3 separate regions of the Homo sapiens genome follow, and all the other regions are linked to region 3. The links are contacts of gene promoters, found by promoter capture Hi-C in blood cells and fetal thymus (Javierre and others, 2016). All regions are on one chromosome and are shown on one strand. Each heading gives the region's core, a stretch centred on a gene start or on the middle of the fragment in contact. The rest is flanking DNA. Distances are from core to core; before and after follow the strand shown.

Region 1 (4,393 bases), core at 653-3,152, 280 kb before region 3:
AACCTTGAATGGTTATTGAAAGGATGAAATCACATGTATATCACTGGCACAGGGTTGTCATACAGTGGTGCTTAGATAAATATTCATTATTCCTGAGAACTAATGGTGGGAACATCTTATAACTAAAACAAGATAAAGAATAACAGTATAATTCCATAGCACTGATACCTTTACAAGATTTCCTTATACTTGATTTGTATTCAGTTAACAGATTTTATAAATAAAGTTGGTGATATGTTGGCATATTTATTGCATATGGAATACCACTTCATAATCTGCTTTCCCAGTGTTTTAGATGACATTTAATTCTTGATCTCCTATGAGAAAAACTATTAAATAGATTTTAAAATATACTTTTTATTAGTTGTCATTTATTATTGTGAATTCCCCTAACCAAAGTTCCTGGAAGGAGGAATCCCATAAAGGAAAATCTAAATGTAAACAGCTGAAATAGGGGATATGTGGAAAAAGCCTGGAGAATAGTATAAAGTGTGATGAAGCACTGGATTCTTTGTCAAAGTTCAAAGTAAAAGAAAAACCTGTACAATTATCAGAGCAGAGCAGCAGTATGCAGTTTTCACAAAATGGGTGGACAGAAAACAATCCTGTAAGAATTAAGAAGAGGGCTAGTATTATGAGTACAACTGAACTCCTGTGTTTTGTGTATGTTTGCAAGTTACAGTTTGTATTTTCAGATTATTCAAGAATAAGAAATGTACCCTAAAATTACTTTTAGAGTAGAGTTCAAACCATACGGAATTTGGAAAGGAAATTACAGTTTAAATTCAATTCAGAAATTAACCGCTTTGTAGTAACGTCCTCAGGACACATCAAGTTCTTTGGAGTTCTCACAACTGCACAAATGTAAATCTGGAAGAGCACAACTTTGATTAGAAATACTCTTTCGTCCTCCAAATAGCTGAAACATTGTCTTTGGAAAGAATAAGCACCTTGCTATATAGTTTGGCTACCTAGGCCACTAAATATTCTTATTACATGAGGGTGGTATTAGATGATTGATATGGTTTCGATGTTTATTCCCTCCAAATCTCATGTTGAAATGTAATATTCCCAGTGTTGGAGGTGGGGCCTGGTGGGAGGTGTTTGGATCATTGAGGCAGATCCCTCATGATTGGCTTGGTGTGGTAGTTCACATGAGATCTGGGGGGAGCGTAGCACCTCCCCCATCTCTCTTGTTCCTGCTGTTCCCATGCAATATGCCTGTTCTCCCTTTACCTTCCACCATGACTAAGCTTCCTGAGGCCCTCACCAGAAGCAGATGTCAGCACCATGCTTCCCATACAGCATGCAAAACCGTGAACCAAAATAAACCTCTTTGTTTATAATTTGCCCAGCCTTGGGTATTTCTTTAGAGCAATGCAAAATGACCTAATTGTTTTTGTTTCAGCATATTTTGTTTTATTGCACTGTGCAATAGCTACTGGATGTGAGGGGTTTATTAAAAACTTCTAGAAAAATGCTTTTCAGATGGCTTTTGGCCGTGCTAACATTTTAATAAAGGATCTGTCATATCCTTCTAGAAACGTAAGCAGTCTCTCTCACAGGATGTAGAAAGGTATCAAAAGCCAAAAAACATTCTATGTAGCTATTTTATATTTTCTAATCACAATAACATTTAGCTAACATGAACTTAAACTGTAAATTTCAAAGTTACATATTATGTATAGCTTACATATTTCATAGGATGCTTATCCTCAACTTTGGATACATCTTATCTGAAGAATGTGTTCTCCCCAGAAAAATACGTAGCATGTCTAATTCTGTGCCAAATACTATATATGTGTAAGTTCCACAAAGCAAAAATATCAAGTATTTCTCAAGAGACATTTACATCTAAAAATACTGTTTTAATTCTGAATTGATTGCCCTGAAAGCATGTGTAATTTGCCTTAAATATTAGGTAGGTTAGAGAAAGTCTTTAAGCAGGGACTGATCTTTGTGCTTGTTTGTTCTCATGACTGACATGACCTGGAACTTGTAAAAACTCAGAATATTCTTTATTTGCATGTATTTTGTAATAAAAGTATTATTTATCTTGCCTATTATGTAATAAAACCATGACTAATAATGTATGAAGAATGAGAGAACAGTTTGGTGTTAAGGTAAAGAATTACTGTCCACTGTATATTTCAGAGCCTATAATGCCATTCATAAGTTGCAGAACTCAACTGTCTAGGTGAGTTTAGTGTATTTCTAGAATAGTTTATCTTAAAATATTCTTCATGGTGAACAATCAGCATATATACTGATATTGTCCTCCCAGTGAGTGATTCTCTTCAAGTGCCATAGTGAAATTCAAAATATTAGCTACACAATCACCACTTCGTAGCTTTCCTTGTATCTCACATGTCCATATATAACTTAGATTATAGGGAAAAAGCCTTCAAGCTATTTTAGTGCCCAAGTGTACTCATACATACCCTTCTTTATTCCACACTTGGGCCCTTTGTCAAGAGTCCTTGCATAGCACCCACTTGATATGTCCTTGCATAGCACCCACTGGACATCCAAGGACCCTTGAGGGCCTTGCAAAGCTTATGACTTATGACTGTATGGAACATGGTTTACCTCTGGTGAAACAGACCGTTTTGATGAAAATAGAGGAGGATGTAATAAACTTTTGAAGAAAATAGAGGACTTGCCCTGGCCTACTTGCCTCTTCTGATTGCCTTGCAATGCATTTATTCTCCACTTTCTCTGCAACGTTTAGTTCTTTCCTTGCAGAGTGTTGGAGACAAGGTAAACGTGATCAGCTGCCTGGTCTTGGGTAAGGTGGTATTTTCTCTCTGTTAAATTTGTACAGATTCTTACGTTTGACTGAAACACTGCCCAATGCAAAAAGAAAGACTGGGGCAAAGAGATGAAATATTAGATATAATTACTTTCATAATCTTATATGTAAATAAATCTAGTTGCCAAACCTCAGGATCTTTGAGTTCTTCGGTTATTTTTTGTGGAATGTGATTTCCGTAGATTAATTTTGGACCTTGATCATCTTTAATGAATCTAGATGAGCTCATACAGAGCTTGAAAAGACAAAGTTCACAAAAGCAGAGTGCCTCTTTGAAAACCTGGCTTTTTGTTTTGCGTGGCCCAGCGGGACTTGCCCAACCATAGAACAAAATACCTGGACTCCAGAGATCCAAAGACTCCCTTCAGCCTTCAACCATTGCAAGGCAATCACTTCCCAGCTGTGTGGTCTCAGTCACGATGTTTAACCAAGGCCTTTTGAGCCCATTTCCTCATTTGCAGCGTGAGCATGCCATCTATTTTACAGGATTCTTCAACAAGTTGAGCATCTACTATGCACAGGCACTGGGGAAATACAGTGATGAATAGAACAGACAAGGTCCTTATGTCTTGGGACTTACATACAAATGGGAGGAATCAGACAAAAATTTGAACAAGATAATTTCAGATGGTAAAATGTACTGAAAAACAGGGTAGTAGGATAGAAAGTGAGGGAGGGGTACCTTTCTTAGATAGGGTAGTCAAGGAGAAACACTGGTGGTGAGGTTGAGTAAGAAGGTAGAGCTGGCTGTGTGAAGATAGAGCACCAAGTGTTCCAGGCCGAAGGTGCTGGAAGTTAGAATGTTTAGAGGGAGACCATGTTGGCGTGTTGAGAAATGGAAAGCAGTCAGTGGAGTTCAAGTGCAGTGAGGAAAGGATGGTGTGGTATGAGATGAGGTTAGGTAGGGCTTGACAGGTTTAAGCAAGGGAGTGAGTGACCTGATGTAGTTTCAAAAGACACTTCAGCTGCTGTGCAGAGACAGAATGGGAGAAGGACAAGAGAAACAGGGAAATGAGTTAGGAGGTTCTTGGCTGGGAAGATTAAATGGGATTATATAAATACAGTATCTAGCATGCCCCAAGCACATAGCAGCTCTCTAATAAATAATTTAACTCCTCATTTCCTTGGATCTTGTGATTCCTTTCCCTGCAACAGAGGTTGTATTCACCTTAAGATTAGCTTCACTTCAGTGCTGTTATACAGAAATCAAACCAGTAGATGATCAGGACATAGCACTCCTGTTGCTCTTAGGCTGGTATAGGAGGAAATTATAAATTGTGTTGACTACAGAAGCGTTAAAGCATTAAAGAATGCTTCTGTAGTCACTGGCACAACTACCTACTGCACTGTAGAGTGTTAATAGATGTTACTTGGAAAAAGGAGTTGTGTGATAAACTAAATTGGGAAATCCTGGGCTAAATTGGCTTTTTTATAGCAGTGCTTCTCAGAACCTTGAGTATGTACTGTGTATACCCAGGCGGGAGACATTACGTATTTTCCAAACGTAACTCAACTCAGAGGTCTAAGGTTCCACAAACATACTTTCGAAAACACTTTAGAACTGGGATTGGGCAGCTTTGT
Region 2 (4,414 bases), core at 420-2,919, 270 kb after region 3:
TTGGTCCAATATTTTTACTAAATAGGTTCCATAAGAAAGAGAAGAGAGAAAAGATGAAATTATCAAAGGAATGGCATGAGAAAATTTTCCACATTACAAGATATGAATTTCTAAATTGAAGGGCCCAAACATGAAACATGATGAGTAGAAACGAGCATTATACCAGACACATTATTGTGATATTTCAATATAAAATAAAGATAAGAGTCTAAATGATTTCTTGAGAGACAAAAGATAAATCACAAATGCAGTGATAAAAATCATACAGCAGTAGATTTCTGAAAACAGCACTGAAAACTAGAAGACAATAAAATATGTCTTAATTACAGCCTGGGAGCCTGAATAAAAATAATAGGTAGACTCAGAGTGGATCTTGGATGGAAGGTCAAGAAATCAAGTATAATAATGTTATACAAAGTAACTGGAGATTAAAGGAAAGAACCCCCTTATTTTTGAGACAGGGTCTCACTCTGTCACTCAAGTTGGAGTGCAGTGATCCGATCATGGCTCACTCCAGTCCCGACCTCCTGGGTCTAAGTAATCTTCTTGTCTCAGCCTCCTGAATAGCTAGGACTACAGGAACACACCACCATACCTGGCTAATTAAGAAAAAAAATATTTAGAGATAGGGTCTCACTATGTTGCCCAGGCTAGTCTCAAATTCCTGGGTTCAAATGTCTCAAGCCAAAGTGTTGGGATTACAGACATAAGCCACCATGCCTGGCCTAGGAAACTTTGAAGTTAAAGCCTTGGGTCAGTCATCAATGTCAGAAACATCTTAAAGAATGGATAGTGAGTACTAGACTTAGCCAAGATAGCCTCTTAGCTTGCCCCTATAGAGGGTGGGTCTCTACAGAGAGGCGTTGACCCTATTCACCTGCACAGACAGTGATTGCCATTGTCAGTGTCAAGTTTGAAGAGAAATAGATGTCACTACAGCAGCATAGCAGTTAAACTTTGCATTTTCAACCTTTTTCTTTCAAAGTCTCAAACCCTGAACCAACATGAACTTTCATGAGTGCAACCCATTTAAACGGAATATTGTCTGGGAGGAAGAACCAAACTCCATGCAATCCTAGTGTCCTCAGACAGTCTCTCTCTCACTTGTGGGATAACCCTAAGTGAATAAGAGCTGGTGTGACTTGAGCTCACATTGATCTTCAGGGTGGTACCCCTGTGCTCCAACATGTTTCCAAGAGGCGTCTGGGTATTCGGATGCCAGACCACCAACATGGATGCCTGATCGAAAGCAGAGGTAAGTAATTGCTTCTCTGAAGTGATTTCAAGTTTCTCCAACAGAACTATGTGTATTTTCATTTCATAGTATCCCTTTATTTATAGCAAAACAGACCAAAATACCTGCAACTAGTCTGAGCCGATTTGAAATGACAGGTATGGGAATTCCCAGTTGAATTCACACCAAGCTACATTTTCATACATCCCTAAGGGCAAATTTTGTGACATCTCTCACCAGAATGTTCCAGCCTGCCAGATAGAGGTGAATACTGTGATTTCAACTTGAATATTACACATAAACAAAAAGAATTATCTCAATAGCAACTTGCTTAAAGAAGCATCTTATAAACCTGAAGCACTTTAAGAACACTAAATTGGACTGATATGGATTTTTTCCCCTAATGTAGAAAGATATATATTAAAAAAAGGCCACAGCAGGGGCTGAAATATGTGACAAACAATTTGGAAACAGCTGTGCTGATTGTAATAGCCTCCCAATAACATACTGCTTGTATTTTCTTCTCAGTTTGATTCTTTGACTCCAGGAAGTACTGGAAAGATACAAAACATTTTTCTATGGCAAACTGCTTTTAATATGATCAATTACCTTTCCATCTTTATGCTGGGCTATGGTTTAAATTGCATGATTAATCTTTAACTCAAAGAGGTCTGAGGTGTGCTCTGTTTTTCTCCCTTTCTTTCTTTTCAAAAAGCATCTTAGAATTAAACAAAAATGTGAAAAAGGAATTTCAAATATCTATAGCAAGTGGTTTAATTTTTTAGCAACTATAGATGTTAGCTTACTGAAAAGAAAATTAAGACTGTTGTGAAACAGTCTGTGACTTTTATATGTTTAAAGCTCTGGCAACCAGAATCTCCAGAATATGTTGAAACTTCTCAAATTTTGCAATCCAGTTTTATGACCACAAAATCTTCCAGAAAGGTATGTTAAGTGCTTACCAGGTAGTATTAACTAGTAGTAAGTCTGGTATTTCTTACATTTTAAAAATAATCTGGAATTTGTTTTCATGTAAGGTCTGATGGTAGAATTATAACTTTCTTTTGTTTTTTTATAATTGGACAGCTAAATGGCTCAACTTCATCTCTTTCCTCTCTTCTCACTGAATTATAATGCCACTTTTAAACACGGAGTACATGTGCAAAAGTGTCCACAGACATGCCTCTCTTTTTTTTTTTCTGAATGTCCTATTCTATTCATTTGACCTCTCCATTCCTATCCTCATACCACATTGCAATAATTATAATTTTTTATTCCATTATTCTTTCTACTGCTAAATTGCTTTAGACCTTATTGTAACTCATTTATTCTTTCATATGAAATTAAAATAATGTTGTCCATTCTAGAAAAAAATAGCTCTATTATTCTTATGGGAATTGAATTACATTTTAAAATTAATTTTGGGAAAATTAGCACTTTTAATATTGAACTTTCCTATCCAACAACATAGTGTATCTCTCTTCTATTCAAATGTTATAATTTCTTTCCTACAGATTCTTTATGTTACCTCTGCTGTGCTTTTAGTTGTCCCTCAGCTCCACAGCAGAAACACATCATCTGAATGAAACTTAGTCCTTCCTTAGTTTCCTCTGGGAGACTTCACCAAGGCAGGCAATAAGGGTACCATCTCTGAGGGTTAAGACAGGTATTTCTAGCATTTCCTAGGCTCAATTTCATGTTCCTGTTTCTGGTTAGCTCTCTACACAGGTTGTGTACTCATTTTTGCTATGCCTGTATCAATTTTTGATCCTTTTTCTCCCTCTCACCCTTGCTATGCATCATTTGGCAAGCTGTATATTTAGTCCTTTGATCAGTGCCTTGATTTGATCAGGCTTGCAACCATTTCTGCCTCTCTTTCATACTGAGCCACAAAGCATATTCAAGGATATGTCCGGCTTGGGGGAAAATAGGCTGTACAGAGCTCTCTTCAGATTCCAGGCACTTTAATTCATAGTTCTCCAACAGACAATAGAGTACATCTTACTGACTGCCTAATAAAAAGAGGAGAAATTGCCCTCTGAATGTGCTATAATTGGATCATGTCTTTACTCTCATGGTATTCAATAGGGATCCAAGATGATATAAGGTTTTTTATCTCTCTATTAGTGTGAGACAGATATAAACCACAGTTAGGAAATCAGAAACTTTCCACTCCCATGATGGGGAATCGAATGAACAATTCAGATTCCACATTTATGGTAACCTTTTATGTATCAGGTGGAGTACTCGGTGTTTTCTGAGATATTATCTGACTAAGCTTTTCAAAAGATAGCCATGAGCCCAGAAATTTGAAATTTAAGAAAAGGTTATGAAAGCTTAAGTCCATGTATTGAAATTATGACAGGTGATAACTGTCATGTTCAGAGTTCTTCAGAGTCCTTCAGAATGCACTGGTCCTCTTGCAAATAAGAAGAAACGGGGTTCTTGGTATAGGCCCTCATGGACACTGGGGGTGGGACAGGGAGACAGCATGGCTTCTCCAGGGGTGTGCTACCCACAGTGATGCCTGCTTGGTGCTGCTGGCAGCAGCCCATGAACAACATATACAAGTCAGCCAACTTGCCTCAGAGTCTCGTTACTAAACCTAGCAGACCCAGAGGCCTGTGAATTTAGAATGATAATCCCAAGTGCACTGGCCACACCACAGGCACTGACAGTCACCACCACGCCTATGGTTAAGAAAGCAGATGAAACATTATTATTGGCTCAATGCAAGTTTCATGAGCCTTACAACAAAGCCTATCCTTCCAAGAATAGTTCAAACTCACTTTATGAATGAATCACCTGGTAACTGACCGAGATTGAATACAGGTATAAGAACAGAAATCTTCCAAACTCTAAGAATGGTCCACAGATGGAGACCCTCTCCATCAGGCAGTAATCATTTGGCCCAGACGGTATCTTGCCCATGCCCTTATGCCACTTGCTCCTCCTCTCTGTCTTGTAAGAGCGCTGGCGAAACAAACTGCTTGAACATCAGACTGTGTCTAAGACTCATCACTGGAATTGGATGGAAGAGGAAAAGCATCCCCCTGCAACCTGGTTAACTAGAACCACTCAAGAGGCCTGAATGTGACAATAACTCAGAGTCAATAATAATAGCAAAATAAATGTAGCAAGTATCATTTGATGCGTTTTGTTATTAAGTATTATAAACAA
Region 3 (4,375 bases), core at 426-2,925:
CTTAGAGAGGTTTCAGTTCAGATCTTTCCTGGGGCTCACTTTGGTACCGTCTTCAAGATTTCTCTTGGAAAGGGGCATTAACTCCTTATCCTATCTTAGATGCAATCATATTGAGTTTTTGCCCTTACCATATTCATCAGTTTACATTTCTGAATATACTCATAAAAGGTCTCCTGGTCAGGTCTTATCTCCACTCACTAAAGATTCTCTTAACATCCAGAAATCTATCTCCAGACACCCTTTTATGTGCTCTTTCTAGAATGACAATATAAATGAGTTGGTACAAGAAATGTGAAAAAGAGAGATTGGAAATCTATTGAAATTTGCTAGTCATTAGTGCAGAAGGCTTTATTCACTTCCACATATTTTCTGCATTTAGGATCACCTGAACTTTATCACTTTTGCTGGTAGCAGAACAATTAAGCTGAATAGGACACTTAATTCTAAGAAAGTTCTAAAGAAATCTTTAAAATTTTTAAGACTATCCCTCTCACTATCCTTTAGGCTGAAAGTCTGTCCAAATGTCTTTTGGCACTTATGTGGAATATGATGAATTCCTTTCGCTGGATGTATCTCAGGATAGCATTAATTTGGTGTGATCGGGAGGTGAATTTCTTTAGGATCTTTTTCACTGTTCATGTGCTGTTTTGCAGTTCCTTTGGAGTAGTGGGGGCTTAAGGGGGCTTAGCTTTCATAAACTTTTGGTCTTGAGAATATATACCTGAGATGGGGTCGGTTTGGGAGCCTCCAATGCCTGTCAATTTGGGAACTCCAGAGTAGGATTTTATAAAAATAATCATCCATTCATAACTGTATTGAGTTACAAGGGAGGGCAAGAGAGTCATCCCAGGTCATAGTCATACAATGTAAATTTAGACCAAGGGATGAAACGTGTTGGAGAACACCCTGCAATAATCATTATTGGGTATCTGTGAATTTAACACACTTTTCAGAATGGGACAAGTTGCTTGCCACGGTAGGAAAAGCTGTGCCAAATGTTTGAGGAGAAATGTGGAGAGGAATAACATTAGCTTCAGATACCAAATTGCAAGTTAAACTTCCTGAGGATTTCCCGAACCCTGTTCAAATAAATTAAAATTTTGTTTACCAAAATGACTCCGATATGCAAATACAGAACACAGTGTTATATAGGTGCTAGGGACTGAAATTTTTTACAATCATATAATTTATTGTAATACTTAATATTATGATAAGACCGTTAATTTATCATATTTTCCCTGTAGTGTTTACTCACATGGACGGGGATAGATCCAGATTTCATGAAGTCTGAAGGTTACCTAATTTTGGAGGCTATTCTTAATAAAAAGAATGCACACTTTTGAATATCAACACTGGTCCCTTACAAAGGACCCATGCAGATGAAGAGCCCTGAAAGCTGAGTTTCATTGATTCCGGGTGAAACTACCTCTGGATGTGGAGCTGTGTTATGGGAATACCGCATCACAGTCAGGACCCAGCTCTGCTGCCGCCTCAGTAGGAGGCAAAGGTGGAAACGTGGAAACTATGGTTATAAGGTTCATACTTTACTGACCATCATTGAAGCTGCTTGTTGGGTCCCTTAGGAAGGGATCTCTCAATGAAACAAACATTAGAGCTTCTTATTTTTTTTTGAGACAGTGTCTAACTCTGTCACCCAGGCTGGAGTGCAGTGGCACCATCTTGGCTCACTACAACCTCTGCTTCCTGGATTCAGGTGATTCTCCTACCTCAGCCTTCTAAGTAGCTAGGATTACAAGGCATGTGCTACCATACCGAGCTAATTTTTGTATTTTTAGTAGAGACAGGGTTTTGCCATATTGGCCAGGCTGATCTTGAACTGCTGACCTCAAGTGATCCACCCTTATGACCAGCAGACCCTGATCTAAGAAGCTAGATGATTCCTCATGAGGTCACTTATAAACCTTATTGCTGATGTATTTCAGTTTATTTATTGGACTATCTTAGATTTTAAACACCCCACCCAATGCCACCATCTATGTAGCAACTAGAGCAGGACTCACAAATAAAATAACCTTCAAGGCCAAACAGCTTCCAATAGCCAGATTTGTCAAGATTAACTTAAGGTTTTAAAATTAGGCAATGCTTGTAGACACAAACCACTGTGGGCACCATAAAATATCACCTTATTTCAAAAGACTGAGAAAACTGAAAATGACCTGAAAAATTCCTATTGAGTGATCTATTTAATCACTCAGGTGGGGTATGGTGTATCTGGTGCATGTTCAACCTCAGGTGCAGGTGCATGTGCATGCAAATATACACGCGCCACGCTTTTAACCATGCATCTCTCTTTGAAAAGATCATTCCTTCTTTCTTATCTATATGTGAACAAATTGTCAAAACAACCTCAAATGCTAGATGATATAATCCCCAAATGCTAGTAATATAAAAATGACTGTAATAATACAAGTGATATCATTGCTATACATAGCACCACACTTTTACTGTTTCTCAAATCTACAACTATCCTATTTTCTAGTGTTTGTTTATTTCTTTATTCACTGAAATGACTGATATGGGCAGTTTAGACACCCAGAGGAGGAGATAATGGTTTTGATTGTGCTAGATGGTTTGACTCTGCTGAGTGTATCCTATAGACTTAATACCAACAGAGGTCATGGATATTTTTTTCCCACTTCTTTTCCTCTTTATTGTTAAGGAGACTAATTGTGTGTGAGTGTATGACAGGAAATGTTTTGATTTTTTTGTAGTGGCAAGAACAGGAGGGCATTCTTTTAAACATCTTTTCATTTTCTAGGCAAAGCGTGGGAATGGAGGATGAGAGATAGTCAATTTTCAGAATAAGATGTTCTACCAAGATGTAAAGAGGGGAAAAAAAGTAACTTTCAACAGCTAGGCAAGAACTGCCACAAGCAGTAGTCGAAAAAATCAACGGCATGGTTTCCTAATGTGGTCTTGGATTCAGCAAGAAAATACTACAGAGAGAAAACTGCAGGAGTCCCTATTTTGTCCCCTCAAAATGAATTAAATGGTCTAGTGGAAGCTGAAGGACTCTGAAGATGGTGAGTCTACCACTGATTCTTCAGATGGTGTCAAAGATGATTCCTGGTTAGGTATAAAAAGCAGCACTTTTAGTCTGCTATTCATACATTAAAAATGACAGAGAATATACACCTAGAATATTTACCTAGTACTGCTGCCTTGGAAACATGGTTCTAGGTCTCAGGAGTTTCCCAACAAGGAGTCTTTGTGCTCTTGAGACCTCAACAATGTACTGAGCTGACTACCTCAGCAATATTCTATCTAAACTAACACCCAGGTATAGTGATCAATGGTCTAACCAGCTTGCAAGTTATGGCTGAAATAGTGGTTTACCTATCAAATCCATGTAACTCCCAGAATAATTATGATTCTATCTTTTGGGCTGGCAATTATTTAAATAAAATATTATTTACAAAGGAAACAGCAGGGAGAAGAATCATGTAAATTAGATTCATTAAGTGGACAGATTCACTTACAGTTCATTTTGGAATAATTTATGCCAGTTTTCTCTGATGTCATCTGTTGTTCAGGTTAACAATTAGCTCATTATTAACTGACAAAGGTTACTTTGTGTATTGGCAGAGGAAGGCATATTATTTGGGAAAGCTTCTATGACTACCGAGCTTTCATATGGGTGCAAGAGTTTATTTGCAAAAATCCAGCTCTTATTTTCTCAAACAATTCAATATCCTGATGCATATATCTCTGTATTCTCAGGAGGCTTTGCAGAGGAATATATTTCTCTTTGCTAGTGTATAAGCAGTCAAGACTAAAAGAGAATAGGGCAAAATATTCATTCCAACTCTGTATTACTCTCTGCTTTGAACTAAAGATAATATTTTCTAATATATTAAGAGACACCTCTTTTACAGGCCAAGTTACAGATCTCTTAAAAAATCCAATATGATGATGCCCATTTACAAAATTTTATGATGAGAAAATTAACTTTAAAACTCTTTTACAACTCTACCAAATGTAAGAAATATATGTCCCTAAGAAGGTAAGGCATTAGTCCATTTGGACCTTTTGAAATTCTTTGCTGTTGCTTGCAGTCTTTTATCTGTCTCAGCTGTGTGTAGTTTAGTGACTCTGACCTTGAGGAGGTAACAGAAATGGTGCCTACCATTAATGTGGTTTTTCTTTTAAAAAACAAAATGTTTCCTGGCATGTAATTGTTTTTTTCAAAAAAGACTTGACCCTGTGCAGTATTTTACACTTACATCATTTCCCCATTTATAATTCTTTCTTGTTTTGGTGTGTTGGAGGGAAAAAAAGTGTTATGTAGTTCTTTAAAAACTTTCAACCAAATAATAATAAACAATCGTAAGATTCTGAAGTATTTATCATGAAT

What was found. The method cuts DNA at HindIII sites, captures the fragments that hold promoters and counts their contacts. A CHiCAGO score of 5 or more calls a contact.
Region 1: a contact is called between a fragment that was not itself captured here and the fragment with the promoter of SLC9A9-AS1 in region 3, in 1 of 17 cell types (M2 macrophages). The highest score is 5.6, in M2 macrophages.
Region 2: a fragment that was not itself captured here is called in contact with the fragment with the promoter of SLC9A9-AS1 in region 3 in 5 of 17 cell types (naive B cells, M2 macrophages, total B cells and 2 more); the score reaches 7.3 in naive B cells.

The regions. Positions count from the first base shown.
Region 1 is chr3:143,061,917-143,066,309 of GRCh38, forward strand. No RefSeq gene overlaps it. Among named protein-coding and RNA genes, the nearest start is that of CHST2, 56 kb to the right of the region's middle. The HindIII fragment of the contact is 1,302 bases long and covers 1,252-2,553 here.
Region 2 is chr3:143,611,298-143,615,711 of GRCh38, forward strand. All of the region lies in intron 6 of SLC9A9 (solute carrier family 9 member A9), which reads right to left. Among named protein-coding and RNA genes, the nearest start is that of SLC9A9, 230 kb to the right of the region's middle. The HindIII fragment of the contact is 3,681 bases long and covers 1-3,510 here.
Region 3 is chr3:143,340,571-143,344,945 of GRCh38, forward strand. SLC9A9-AS1 (SLC9A9 antisense RNA 1) reads left to right here and starts at 1,676. Exons shown (of 4, transcript NR_048544.1): 1 at 1,676-1,714; 2 at 2,780-3,044; 3 at 3,897-4,024. The region is part of intron 14 of SLC9A9 (solute carrier family 9 member A9); the gene reads right to left. The HindIII fragment of the contact is 6,948 bases long and covers 1-3,628 here.